Regions from separate parts of the Homo sapiens genome. Here regions 2 and 3 are each linked to region 1. Evidence: promoter capture Hi-C in 16 types of primary human blood cells and fetal thymus (Javierre and others, 2016). All regions are on one chromosome and are shown on one strand. The core of a region is centred on a gene start or on the middle of the fragment in contact, and the rest is flanking DNA. Distances in the headings are between cores, read along the strand shown.

The links. The method cuts DNA at HindIII sites, captures the fragments that hold promoters and counts their contacts. A CHiCAGO score of 5 or more calls a contact.
Region 2: a fragment that was not itself captured here is called in contact with the fragment with the promoter of VAV2 in region 1 in 4 of 17 cell types (total B cells, naive B cells, M2 macrophages and 1 more); the score reaches 7.7 in total B cells.
Region 3: a fragment that was not itself captured here is called in contact with the fragment with the promoter of VAV2 in region 1 in 13 of 17 cell types (total B cells, M1 macrophages, endothelial precursors and 10 more); the score reaches 8.2 in total B cells.

Annotation. Positions count from the first base shown.
Region 1 is chr9:133,989,759-133,994,110 of GRCh38, reverse strand. VAV2 (vav guanine nucleotide exchange factor 2) reads left to right here and starts at 1,787. Exons shown (of 30, transcript NM_001134398.2): 1 at 1,787-2,036. The coding sequence starts at 1,833. RefSeq lists enhancers at 475-664, 561-1,288, 2,017-2,744, 2,745-3,472, 3,473-4,200 and 1 more and silencers at 1,075-1,384, 1,485-1,584, 1,645-1,794, 2,065-2,154, 2,195-2,634. The HindIII fragment of the contact is 11,248 bases long and covers 923-4,352 here.
Region 2 is chr9:133,765,731-133,770,082 of GRCh38, reverse strand. VAV2 (vav guanine nucleotide exchange factor 2) reads left to right here. Exons shown (of 30, transcript NM_001134398.2): 28 at 580-666; 29 at 1,487-1,641. Among named protein-coding and RNA genes, the nearest start is that of SARDH, 30 kb to the right of the region's middle. The HindIII fragment of the contact is 6,396 bases long and covers 1-4,352 here.
Region 3 is chr9:133,799,830-133,804,181 of GRCh38, reverse strand. The region is part of intron 9 of VAV2 (vav guanine nucleotide exchange factor 2); the gene reads left to right. Among named protein-coding and RNA genes, the nearest start is that of SARDH, 64 kb to the right of the region's middle. RefSeq lists enhancers at 276-798, 799-1,321, 2,443-2,963. The HindIII fragment of the contact is 4,106 bases long and covers 281-4,352 here.

The DNA of each region.
Region 1 (4,352 bases), core at 538-3,037:
AAGCTCTCCCCCTTGCCCTAAAGGTGCCCACTGCTGCTTCCTCGGGGAAGGGCAAGAGACCTGAGCCCCCGCCTCACCAGCCACCTGGCCTGAGTTTACTGCTGCAGGGGCCAGCTCCTTCCTGACCTCTCTCTACGGGCCAGACCCTAAGCTGGGACCCCCTGCTTCCACCTCAGTGGAGAAGGGGTGAGTCTGACTCTGCAGAGACCAATTTCCAGGACAGGACCCCCATCGGAGGCCCTGGGCCCAGGGGACCCTCTCTGCGCTCGCATCCCCGTTCCGGCCCCTGCGCAGGGAAGCCACGGGGTAAGGGGTCCGGGGGCTGCAGTGCAGCCCCAGCTCATACAGGCCCAGGATTCCACCGGAGTCCAGGGTGGGAGCCCTCAGACACCGCACCCCAGCCTCCGGGCTGAGCCAGTCTCAGAGAAGGGCTTGGACTTGCCTGGTGTCCCCCAGTGAATCAGCAGTGAAAACCCGCGGTTCCCGGCAGCTGAGCCAGGATCCATATAATTTCAGTTGCAGAATCTGTTTGTCCTTGAAGCCCCTCCTACCGTCACACGTTGCCAGCTGGACAGACCGCGCCCCCACCACCCAGGGTGTGGCCTAGAAGGGAGATCAGGGCGGATCAGCACCGGGGCCGGCTGCGACCCTGGGCCGGAGAGCACCTTCCTGCCCTCACTCATGTCACGCATTCCGCCCTGGACGCCAGGAACTGCCCGCTGGGCAGCTGCGAGTGGCCAGGACTTTGGCCAAAAGCTGGGGAATCCTGGCCTTTATGCAGGGTCGGGGGTCTTCCTATGGGCCCCCGGCCAGGGCGGAGGACAGGAAGAGGGCTCTGGGAGTCCTGGGCCCGTGTGCCTTCAGCCTCAGCCTCGGGTATCCCGCCGGGGCGGCTTGATGGGCCAAGGGGGCTCAGTAAGCTTCGGCCCAGCCCGGTGCCCTCTCCCGAGTCTGTCGTTACCGAACGGCCATGCGAGGGCGCCCAGCGCGACAGGGACCACCTCCTGACCTCCACGGAGGACCAAAGGCACCCGGGGGGACGCCCGGCCATCACTCCACGGGCGAGGTCGCTCCCCCAGGGAGAAGGGCTCCCCAAAGTCCGAGCGCCCTTGGAGAAAGTCGGCCGGACCTGGGCCTGCGCCGCAACCCCCGCCCACCGCAACTTTCGCGGGCGGTAGCGGGGCAGGAAGTGGGGGGGCGGGGGCGGCGCTTGGGACACGGGGAGGTGCCAGGCGAGTGCTCCGGCCCCGCCCCTGCCCCGCCCGGCCGTGGCCGCGCCCCCTGCGCCCCCAGCGCCCCGGAGCCGTGGAGCCGCCGAGCCGCCGAGTCGTCGAGTCGCAGCGCCGGGCGTGGGGACTGCGGGTGGGGCGAACAAAGCGGCGGCGACGCGGGCGGCCCAGGCCCGGGACGCGCGGAGCGAGCGACCCCGCCGGGCCTTTGTCTCGGGCGGGGCAGGAGCCGCGGCGGCCGCGGGGCGCCCCGAGCGCAGAATGCGGCGCCCGGCGGCGCGGATTGGGGAGCGCTGCGGCGACTGGCTGCGTGGAGCCCGGCCCGGGGCCCGCAGGCACTTGCGTGTGTGAAGCGGGGAGATCCGGCGCGCTGCCCGTTGCCCGCCCCGCGGCCGCACGTGGGCGGGAGCGGCGGCCCGAGAGGAGCCCGAGGAGTAGGAGGAGGAAGAGGAGGGGACGCACGGCGGCGCAGCGGGGGACCTGGGGCAGCCCGCGCGAAGCCCCGCCCCGGCCCTGAGCCCCGCGCGCGCGCGGGCGGGATGCCCCGCGGCCGCTGCACTTTGGCTCGAGCACTGCCCTGAGCCGGTCGGGCCCGCGGGCGCCATGGAGCAGTGGCGGCAGTGCGGCCGCTGGCTCATCGATTGCAAGGTCCTGCCGCCCAACCACCGGGTGGTGTGGCCCTCGGCCGTGGTCTTCGACCTGGCGCAGGCGCTGCGCGACGGGGTCCTTCTGTGCCAGCTGCTGCACAACCTCTCCCCCGGCTCCATCGACCTCAAGGACATCAACTTCCGGCCGCAGATGTCCCAGGTGAGCGCCCGGCGGGCGGGAGGGCCCCGGGGAGGCGGCGTTCGCGCTGCCCGACGCGCGGACTGAACGCGGAGGTCGCAGCGGCGGCGGCCCAGGCGCCCTGGCTGGGGCGGCCGGGCTCCGGGACGCGGGCGGGCGGCTGGAGGGTGCGCCCCGGGCCTCCGAGACGCGACCTCAGGAGGCGCGAAGTTGGCCAAAGTCCCCTCAGCCTGGGTCGCGCCGCCGCCGCCCGCGGGCACTGCTCTGGTGCGCCGGTTCCGCGGTCTGCGCGGCCTGGGATGGGGGAGGCTCCGGCGCTGCGCTCGCTCTGCGGGGCCCTGCGAGTGGCCCCTCATTTCCCAGGGAGCCTGCCGAGCCGGGTGTGCGCGTCGTGGGTCGCATCCTTGGGCCTCGCGCCTCCTGGCCGGACGCCGGTGGAAGAGCGGGCGCGGTCGCTGCGCCGGCCCGGGGCGCGGCTGGAGGGCCCGGGAGGGGCGCGGGGCGGGAGCCCTCGGGGCCGGAGGGAGCTGGGTTGGCCCCGGGCACCGCCCCCTCGCCGGCCTCCGCCTCTTCCCGGACCCGGACCCGGGCCACTTGGCGCCAGTCCTGGCTCCCGGGTCGAGCCGCCTCGAGGATCCCCAGGGCCACTTGGCCCCAGTCCTGGCCCCCATCGCTTTCCCAACACCCCCACCCCTCCTTCGGGCGCTGAGTGTGGCCTTTGTCGCGGCGGAGGCACGCGTGCGGCCGCAGGGCCAGGCAGGAAAATGCCTGCCCAGCCGAACGAAGCTGCTTTTCTTGGCCTCTTAAGAGGGAACTTGGCTAAGACTTGAGAGAATCGAGGCTTCCGTCCTGTTCTCCGGGGGTCGCGGAATCCTTACCGGGAGCAGCTTAGAAGAGGTCGGGGGAGGCAGAGCGGGTGGCAGCCGGGTCCACCCAGCGCCGAGGAGGTGCGGTCTTCCAGCCAGCTCAGCAGCCCCTCACCGCGCGCAGTGGCAACTCCATGTGGAGAGGGACCATTCACCAGTGGGACTTAGGACGTGGTTCCTGGGAAGGAGGGAGAGTGAGTCACCAGCGATTCCAGGCTGGGCAGCGAGGCCTCTGCCCTTTGGCGGTGACTGCGTTTCCTAGGAGACCGGGCCTTTCTCTGCCGGGTTGGGGGGCGCTGACAAAGGCAAGCCCAGAGGGGAAGGGGCCGCCTTCCCACTGGGTAATGATTACCCAGCACTGCCTGGACCGGCTTAGCAGGAGCCCTCAGAGGCCTCCCTGGGAGCCAGCGCCTCTTCCCGCAGGATGTCAGTGGTCAGGTGCAGGTGGCGGGGGTGGCGGTCACTGCTGCAGAGGGCTTCCCCGGATCTGTTCTCAGAGCCCCACGGGGACTGGGAAGTCTGGACTCCATTTTATGGCTGGAGAAACTGAGGAGAAGGGTAGCTGTTGGGGAGCAGGGCTGGGCCTCGAACCAAGGTGGCTGCCTTTGATATGAGTTCCAGGGGCTGCCCAGGCTGACTTGCTCGGGCAGGATTCCCTGCTGCTTGCAGGCTGGGGCTCAGGGCAGAGGCAGGGCAGCTGGGTCCGCACAGAGGAGGCTTGGGAGGAGCCCAGCCTTGCCTGGTGGACTCGCTGGGTCCGGGGGCTGCCCCTCCCCAGCTGTGGTTTGGGAAGATGGGAAGAGGAGGGGGCCGTGGCTGTGGCAGGTGGCTTGGCTCAGCTCCTGCACTGGAAGTTCAAGCCAGAGACTTCCTGGGGTCTCTGGAGCCATTGGCCAGGCAGCAATACGAACCCTGACAGAGGCCCCTTGAGCCCTGCTGCTGGGGGGTGGACGGGTGTCTAGGGGTCCCGCTGCTGGGCCGGTAGAGGGGTGTTTAGGGGCCCTGCTGCCGGACTCGTGGAGGGCGTGTAGGGGCCTGGATGGTAGGAGGACCAGATGGGTGTGTGTCTGTGTGGCTCTCCGCTCTGATTGAATCCTGGCACTGTCCCCTCCCAGGTAGGCAACGACCTCCAGAGCCTCAGTTTCCCCATCTCTGTCATGAGAACAGTCATAGCAGTCCCCTCGTAGCCATGCTGTGAGGATTTGCTAAGGGCAGGCACAGAAGGCACACCCTTCGCACAGTGCCCAGGAAATGACCGTCACCTGGACTGTGGCACGTAGTGCCCTGTGTCGCTGAGGCTGATCTTGCCATCCACTCCTCTGTCCCGTGGAGGGTGGGCCACCTTTGTACGGCTGTTGCCTGCACGGGGACGGCTGCAGATGCTCCCTTAACCCTCACATTGGCTGTGACAGCCCCGCCTGTTCATTCAACGTGGAGAAACCACTTTACTGCATCTGGCTGCACACAGGGG
Region 2 (4,352 bases), core at 1,224-3,723, 220 kb after region 1:
GCTGTCACAGGTGGGAGAGAAAAGGGCAGGCCCACCTGTTCCCAGATCCCTCCCTGTGCCCAGCCCCTGGGCCTCCTCTGTGAGAGGCAGCCTGTTTGCAGGTTGGACTCCACAGCTCAGAACAGGGAAGGCCACACGGAATCAGGGGCAGGGGCAGGCCCCGAGCATGCGGCTTCCCGCTCAGGACTCTCTCCAGAGTCACCCCACGTCCTCCAGCCTGCAGGGTCCTGCAGGGCCATGGGTCTCACACAGGCCGAGCTGGACAGGAGAGGAACAGCTGGCCTTAGTGAGCACCTGCTATGTGCCAGGCGAGGGCATGAGAGGAGGTGGTCCCAATTTGCTCTCGAGTACACGGGTGCATAGAGTGGTTCCAGGGTAGCTCAGGTGTGGCCGAGTGGCACCTGTGCCTGGGTGGGGCTTGACAACCCGTGCTGCCCCCTGCCTCCTTTGCCCCCCTGTAGGGCCTCTCCTGCCAAAGGGCCTGCCCCACCCCATGCCCCCCGGCCTGTAGCTGTGCCCACCGTGACTGTGCGTGGATGCCCTGCTGCCCGCCTCACGTTCTCTCTCGCCTCTTTGCAGCTTCCTGTGCTTCCTACAACTTTTCTTTTCTCAGTCCTCAGGGCCTCAGCTTTGCTTCTCAGGGCCCCTCCGCTCCCTTCTGGTCAGGTACCGCTGCTCCCCAGGGCGTGGGGGGACCGGGCCTGTGGCAGCTGCCTTGGGAGACCCAGCACGGAGCTGCCCACTGGCCCCACAGCCCTGCCTGACGTGGCCACAGTTGTCCGCAGTCTGGCACTGGGTGGAGGGGAGAAAGGGGCTGGGGAGGCCGGGCAGAGGCTGCTGCGAGCACCTGAGGACACGTCAGGCTTGGCCCTGCCATTGTCACCACCCACCCCCTGTGGACACGCCCACCCTGATGGCCACTTTCCCAGCCCCGTCCACTGTCATTCCTCCTTGTTCATCAAGAGCTTTGCCTCTGGTAGCAGAAAGCAGGTGGCCACGAGGAGGAGCTGTGGGACTTGGGTGCAGGGAGGAGGGGTTTTCAGTCAGCCTTGACCTCATGGCTTTCGGCTGCCAGAGTCAAAGTCCCTTCCCAGCAGCTGTGTGTGTTTCGCCCTCAGCCATGGTCATTGTCACCTGTCTATCAGGATTCTGCATCTGGGCCAAGCTGGTTCCACTGGGTTTCTGGTTGGATTTGGGGGACCACTGGAATGATGATGGTCAAAGCCTGGGCACCTGCTCTTGTCCCTAAGAACATCCTCATTGCAGGGACTTGGATGTGCTGTGTCCCCAGACCCAGAGGGCAAGGGGCCCTGGGATTGGAGGCCAGTGTGTCCCTCCAGAGCCTTTCTGCTTGACATCCTTCCTCTCTGGGTACAGAGCAGGGTTCTGGGCACCAGGGGAGAGACCCAGCTTGGCCCAAGGGCCTCCTGGATCACTGGTTGGGCTCCTCCTGCAGCTGTGTGATGCTGCCCATCTCCCTCAACAGTGTTCACGCCCCGCGTCATCGGCACAGCTGTGGCCAGGTATAACTTTGCCGCCCGAGATATGAGGGAGCTTTCGCTGCGGGAGGGTGACGTGGTGAGGATCTACAGCCGCATCGGCGGAGACCAGGGCTGGTGGAAGGGCGAGACCAACGGACGGGTGAGTGGCCCCACCCTGAGGGTGTGGGGCTGGCCTCGCTGCAGCCCCTACCTGGTCGGGCTCAGGCAGACTAGCACCACACCTATGTCCACACCCCAGGCCCTGTTCCAGACACCCTCTGCAATCTCCCTCATCCTCACAGCAGCCCAGAAGGTTGGCATTCACAGGGGGAAACCGAGGCTCCAGATGTTTACCACGAACCCAAGGTCACACAGCCAGAAATCGGCTACAGAGGTCTGATGCGGATCCAGGCTCCTAGGAACCCCCCGACCCTGTTCCATTTTTATTCTGGGCTGCCCTCATAGCTGCACTCGCCAAATTACTTGCAAGTCCCCAAGCTCTGTTTGCGGGAAGGGAGGTCACAGGACTGAGGAGGACACGGTGTCCTTGCTGGGCTCCTCCTGCCATTTTCTAAGGCCCTATCTATGCCCTGGTGAGGCAGTAGGGACACAGTGTGTCCCCAATCCCTTCACACTTTCCCAAGTGCCAGGTGGGCCTAAGAGTGCCCTGGCCACCCTAAGATTCTGCATATGTCTGTGGCCTCTTCATCCCAACACCCCATCTGGACCTCTAGCTTTGACCCATGTCTCTCAGTACCTATCCATCCAAGCACCAGAGCTCCCTGTGCCACCAATTAGAAAATGCCCAGCTTTCTCTGTGAGCTGCAAGCTGCACAGGGCAGGTGGATGGGGCTTCAGAGGGCCAGTTAACCTTGGCTCCCAGTGCTGACCCTTCCATTGTCCAGTGGCCGGAGCAGCTCTGCCTTCACCTATCAGTCTGCCCCTTGGAGGCCCTCAAGTCTGACCCATTTTTTACCCAACTGCCCTATAGAAGTGTCAAGGCTACTGAGGCTTAGGTAGCCCACCTAGGGGGCTGGGACCACTGGTTCTCAAAGTGGTCCTTGTGTGATTGGCATTAAAAGTGCCTGAAGCTGTAATTTAATAAGCACATACCTGGGCTCTTTCCCAGATCCAGGTATTTTCTATACAGCATTAAGTTTTAGAACAACTAGTTTGAGTATTACTGGATAATTCCTGTCAATTTGACCCTGTTACCATTATGAAACGTCTTTTCTTTTCTCTGGCATTTATTCTTGCTGTAGTCTCCTTGATCTGCTTTTGTGACACCAGCTTTCTTGGGATTACTGCTTTGTGTGGCATATTATTTTCTCTCATACTACTTAAACTTTTCTATTTCCTTATATTTAAAATGGATTTCTTATAAATAGTTGGGGAAGCCAGTCTGGTCTGACAGTCTTTGGCTTTTAATAGGCATATATAGCCCATTTACATTTAATGTAATTACTGAGCTGTTTGGGTTTAAATTATCTAACTTTATTTTCTAGTTGTCACATCTACTCCTTTTTTCTTCTTTCCTGCCTACTTTTGAATTAATCAATATATTTTTAATTCTACTTCCCCTGCCCTACATTGGTTTGTTAGTTACACACTTTTTTTCTTAAGTGGTAACCTTAGACTAGAGGTTACCTTAAATGAGTACTTTTTTACTATTTCCCAGACAATGCAAGGAAGGACCTTGCGACTTTTGATTGCATCCATTTTCCTCCCAACTTTTGTGCAAGCGTTCTCATGTATCTTAATTCTATATATATTCAAACCTTAGAAGACATTGTTTTTGTTTTTTTGTTTTTGGGATATATATATATATATATATATATATATTTATTTATACTTTAAGTTCTAGGGTACATGTGCACAATGTGCAGGTTTGTTACATATGTATACATGTGCCATGTTGGTGTGCTGCACCCATTAACTAACCTAATTTACATTAGGTATGTCTCCTAATGCTATCCCTCCCCCTCCCCCTCCAGTGTGATGTTCCCCTTCCTGTGTCCAAGTGTTCTCATTGTTCAGTTCCCACCTATGAGAGAGAACATGCGGTGTTTGGTTTTTTGTCCTTGTGATAGTTTGCTGAGAATGATGGTTTCCAGCTTCATCCATGTCCCTACAAAGGACATGAACTCATCATTTTTTATGGCTGCATAGTATTCCGTGGTGTATATGTGCCACATTTTCTTAATCCATTCTATCATTGTTGGACATTTGGGTTCGTTCCAAGTCTTTGCTGTTGTGAGTAGTGCTGCAATAAACATACATTGGAGAGGATGTGGAGAAAGAGGAACACTTTTACACTGTTGATGGGACTGTAAACTAGTTCAACCATTGTGGAAGACAGTGTGGGAATTCCTCAGGGATCTAGAACTAGAAATACCATTTGACATTGTTTTTGTTTTAGGCTGTTGTGCTTATTTAGATTTACCCCGTGTTTACCTTTCCCAGGGCTCCCCATTTCCTCCTGCATTATTGTATTTCCACCCAACACCATTTCCTGCTGCCTGACATCCCTTCTCTTTCATATTTTTTAAAGCATATCTGCTATTAATGAATTCTCAGTTTCTTTTGAATCTAAAACCATCCTTATTTCACTTTCTTTTTAAATATTCACATTGTAAAATGTTTGTAACATAATTTTGAAACAAAATTTCAAACGTACAATTTCAAAATTTCAACTTAAAAGTGTCAGTAACCTGCCCAGATTTACCAATTGTGAATGTTTTGCCCCATTTGCTTTATCATTTGCACTGTGTGTGTGTGTGTTTGTCTATTTCTCTCTAACTCACTTGAGAGTAAATTGCAGAAATCATATTTCTTTACCCCTAAGTATTTCCTAAGACCAAGGACATTCCC
Region 3 (4,352 bases), core at 1,084-3,583, 190 kb after region 1:
AAGGTCCTGGTTCTTGCTTGCTGGCTGAGTCCTGAAGCTTTTATAGGGTGCCTGCTCTGTATGGCTCCTGAGCTCTGGACTGAGGACACGCAGTGAACAGAGCTACTGGCCTCTCGCTGGGTGGGATGGATGAGAACCAAGACAAGATAGAGAAGCTCCGGGGGGAGCTGCGGCGTTGCTGGAGAGCCCAGGAGACCCGTGAGGGCTGCACAGCGGAGGACGTGTCCCCCTGAGCACAGTCCTGCAGGGGTGGGGCGAGGCGGGTTGGGGAGCAGAAGCTTAGGGGAAGGTGAGAGGCATGAGCCCAGTAGAAAAGGGGCGGTTCTCCAGGGAAGGGCTGGAGGGTCCTGCAGGGGCTTCCAGGCCAAAGGAAGGATTTAGAATTTTTCTTTTATTAAGCGAGGGCACGAGGAAGCTGCTGAAGGGCTTTGTGACAGGGTCCTGGCAGCTCGTCGGGGGTGAAGGGTGGAGTAGCATTCCGGTGTGGCATGATCGGCACTGAGTGGCAGGAGACAGTCACCTCCCTCTTTTTGAGGTTATACTTTCATGAATGCAGCCTTCGTCCTCAGACAAGGCAGGAGCTCCTCTTAGCCTTGCCCTGTGGGCCTAAAAGGGGGCATCTCCCACCCAGAGGGACACTGGGCCTTGGGAAGGAGCTTGCATTCTGCAGCTGTGGACATAAGACAAAGCCGTGTGGTTTTTCTCTGTGGCTGGGTCTGGCCAGGCTGGGCCTGGAGTCCAGCTCCTGGTGGCTTCCTTGAGTGGGGCAGTGAGTCATGCTGCGGGGAGTGGGGGCATACGGGGACGTGGGGGCAGGAGAGCTAGAAAGGGAACGACCTCGGGGAGCTGGCAGCCCTGCAGGAAGGCCACGAACTGGCTTTCAAGAGGAGCTCTCTGTGGAGCTTTGCACGAGCGCTTTTGGGAGGAATGCAGAACAGAACGAGACGAAGGCCACGCCCTCCTCCCCCAGGGCTGGGTGGGATCTCCCTGCGTATGTGGAGATGAAGGATCCGAGACAGGTGAGCGCTTTGGTGCACCGAGACTTCCACTCGGAATCCTGGAACGAGTGAGGCTGCCCTGTGGATGGTTCCTACCCGAAGCCCAAGGCTGGGTGGTTCCAGGGTACGGCCTGCAGGGAGAGTCCCCGGTCATGGTCCACCTCAAAAACCCCAGTAGGGGTTGGCTTGGCCACCTGCTCTGGCAGGGCTGCCTTTGGGAACCTCTGAAGTCAAGAAGCCTCAGCTCCCGCTCTGTCTAACCCCCATTTCCCAGATGGGGAAACGGAGGCCAGAGCTGGCAGCTCAGCCGTGCACCTTGCTTGTTCCTGCATCCTTGGTCCATACCTGAGCCCATGGCCTGTGGTCCTCAATCCACGCTGGCCTGTCCCTGGGCATCTTGAGAGGTTGGGGCTGTGTGGACTGGAGGCAGAGGTGATACCATGAGGAAAATGGGCAGAGGAGAGGCATCTCTGGAGGAGGCATTTGTGCACCGTGTGGTGGGTTCAGAATTTGACGTACTCAGAAAGTTAAAAAACATGATCCTCACACAAATACCCACGGAGCTCGGGCCACGGGTCTGTCAACTCACGAGCAAGGGAACCACATACCTTGTCAGCAGAGAGGGGAGGTCGGGCAGGATGCTGGACACGGCGGGCCGTGCCTTGCAAGGTGACCACACTGAGACCTTTGGGGCCATGTCCTCTATCAGGACAGAAATCATTTGCGCCTGAACAACTTTCTCCAGGGGAGGAGTCAGCCGGAGTGGGGCGGGGGAGGGGGAGGCTGCCCCTGGGAGGTGCTCCAACCAGACCAGGAATGCATGAAGTCGTGTGTGTGTGTGTGTGTGTGTGTGTGTGTGTACACGCGTGCTTGTGTGTTTGTGTGCACATGCATGTGTGTGTGTGTGCATACATGTGTGCCCGTGTGTGTTATTCCAAGTTTTGGCTCCTTTTTCTTAACAGTAGTAAATGTGGTTAGAATTAAGGCCTGTAAACTTTTGCCTCCTTAACTGACTTCCTCCAATAGGCTTGGAGTCACTGTCATTTTCTCTCCATTTTTCGGGGAAAAGTCAAACTGTGCCCCCTGGGGACTCTGTGGCCCATGCTGCCTGGTATGTGGCAGGTGCTCAGAGTCCTGTGGTGTGGACGGAGGGTGAAGGCGTCTGTGTGAGTGACCTGGCTTGGCTGTAACAATGACCGCAAACATGGTGGCTTGAAACAACAGAGATGTCTCTGTTCTGGAGGCCAGACTCCTAGTCTCACTGAGCCAAAGTCCAGGTGTGCCCGGGTCATGCTTCCTGCAGAGGCTTCAGGGGGATCCTTCCTACGTCCTGCAGCTGCTGGAGGCCCCGGGTGTTCCTGGCTGGGGCTGCTTCGTTCTCTGTCCCCATCTCCACATGGCCTCCCCGCGTCTCTGTGTCCTTTTCTGAGGCCACTCTCATTGGAGTCAGGGCCACCTTCCTTCAGCATGGCCTCATCTCAGTCCTTACCTTCATTACATCTGCATCATGACCAAATAAGGTCACAGTGTGAGGCTCTAGTGGACCCACTGCAGCCGAGTTCTGGTCCGAGGCCCTCTCCATCACCAGCTGCCCTTGCTCAGTGGGGCTAGGGGTGTGCAGGTGCTGGCATCTGCTCTGCCCCTGGGTCAGGTGAGAGAGGGCGCGGGCCCCTCGAGTGTCCTTCTGGACTCCACGGAGAGAGAGTGTCCCTCTGCAGAGGCGTCACCCTGGGGCCCTGAGGGCCAGGGTTGAGAGCCATGTGCATTCGCTTTGGAATCTGGCCCTGTTCCCCTTCTTGGGCGACCTCAGAAGTCACGTCACGTCTCTGAGCCTCAGGGCCCCTGTGGTGACAGTGGTGTTTCTGTGAGGATGCAGTGAGCCCGGGTGTGAAGCCCGTCCCACGGCCAGGGCCCTTTCAGGCTCTTCATGGAGGTCTGTCTTTCCCCAGAGTTCTCCTGTTTGCTTCAAGTGCCTGCCATTCCCCCCACCCCCAACCTCCTGCATCCTCTTATCAAATGGATAGAAGGACCTGTGTCCAGGCTTGTGGCTGTGGCCACTCACAGCCGTGTGTGAGTGCCTGGTGCAGGCAGGCTCCGGGCTGGGTGCTGGGGTATGGGGATGAGTGAGACCCATTGCAGGAGCTCAGAGCTGGTGGGTGGGGGTCACCCGGGGCAGTCTCCTCTTTGGGCTCCCACTGACCTTGGACAGGCCTCTACCTGCTGCCCTTTGACCTATCTCCTTGCTTTTCCCTCTGGCCCTGCTGGTGCAGGGGTTGAAGTGAAGAAGGGGCAATGATAGGGAAGAGTTTTGACAGACGAGTAGAAGTTTGCCAGGTGGAGAAGGCTGCCAGCTCAGCTGTGCTGTGGCTGATGTGGGTGTTCCCGGTAGAGCATGGTGTGAGGAGAGTAAGGCTGGGATCTGCACTCCAGCCCCTCGTCCACCTAAACCTCGGGCCAAGGTGACTTGGTGTGAAATTGAAAGGCGGAGCTCACAAAGCTGGTTTGGCCACACTAGAGCTGCTGGCACCAGGCATGTTATCCGCTGGGCTTCAGTTGGGAGCTTTTTCCACCTACATGAAGACTTGCCTCGACAGGGAGGGACTGGGGCCATCACTGGGCCCAGCTCACCTGAAATGCTTGAAGCCGAGTCCGCAGTGGTGCGGGGCCTGGTGGGAAGTCAGGCAGTGTGGTGTCCCTCGGGCCCGAGCGTGGCCCCAGCCCCAGCAGCAGCAGACATGGCTCCATGCGGGCAGGACCCCTCGCTGGGGACTCTGTCTTTCCTTCTCCCCAGCCCAGACTCGTCCTCCCGCCTCCAGGCGGTCTTGGGAAGCTCTGAAAGCCTTGAGGTTCACCACCTGCCCTGGCTTCCCCACCTAGAGTCCTCAGGCCAGGTCAGGGGCACTTTTCAAAGGGGCCACAGGGGTGGGCTGGGGGCCTTAGGGTTTGGGGTGCCCCTGGACCTCCTGCCTTGCTTCTGGTCTGGTGTCATCATCAGATAGGAGGCACAGCCAGGAGGCAGAGCAGTGCAGCCCTAGGACAGCCCCAGGAACTGGGCTTTGGGGTCGGTGACTGTTGGTGTGATTCCCTTCTCAGCTACGGGGCTCTCTGAGCCTCAGTGTCCCCATGGGTAGAACGGCGACAGTCACGGTCCCAGAGCTTCCAGCCCAGGTCCTGGCACCAAGTGATGCCCAGTGTGTGTGGCGTGTCTTCTGCGCATGGCTCTGACCATTCTCTCAGGGTGGAGAAAACACCGATCCGGAGCGGGGCAGGTGCAGGCGGCCGCCGGGAGTCAGTGTCTTGTCCGCTCACTTTCGGGCTGTCCGGTGGTCTCTTAAATGTCCCTCTGTTCCTTCT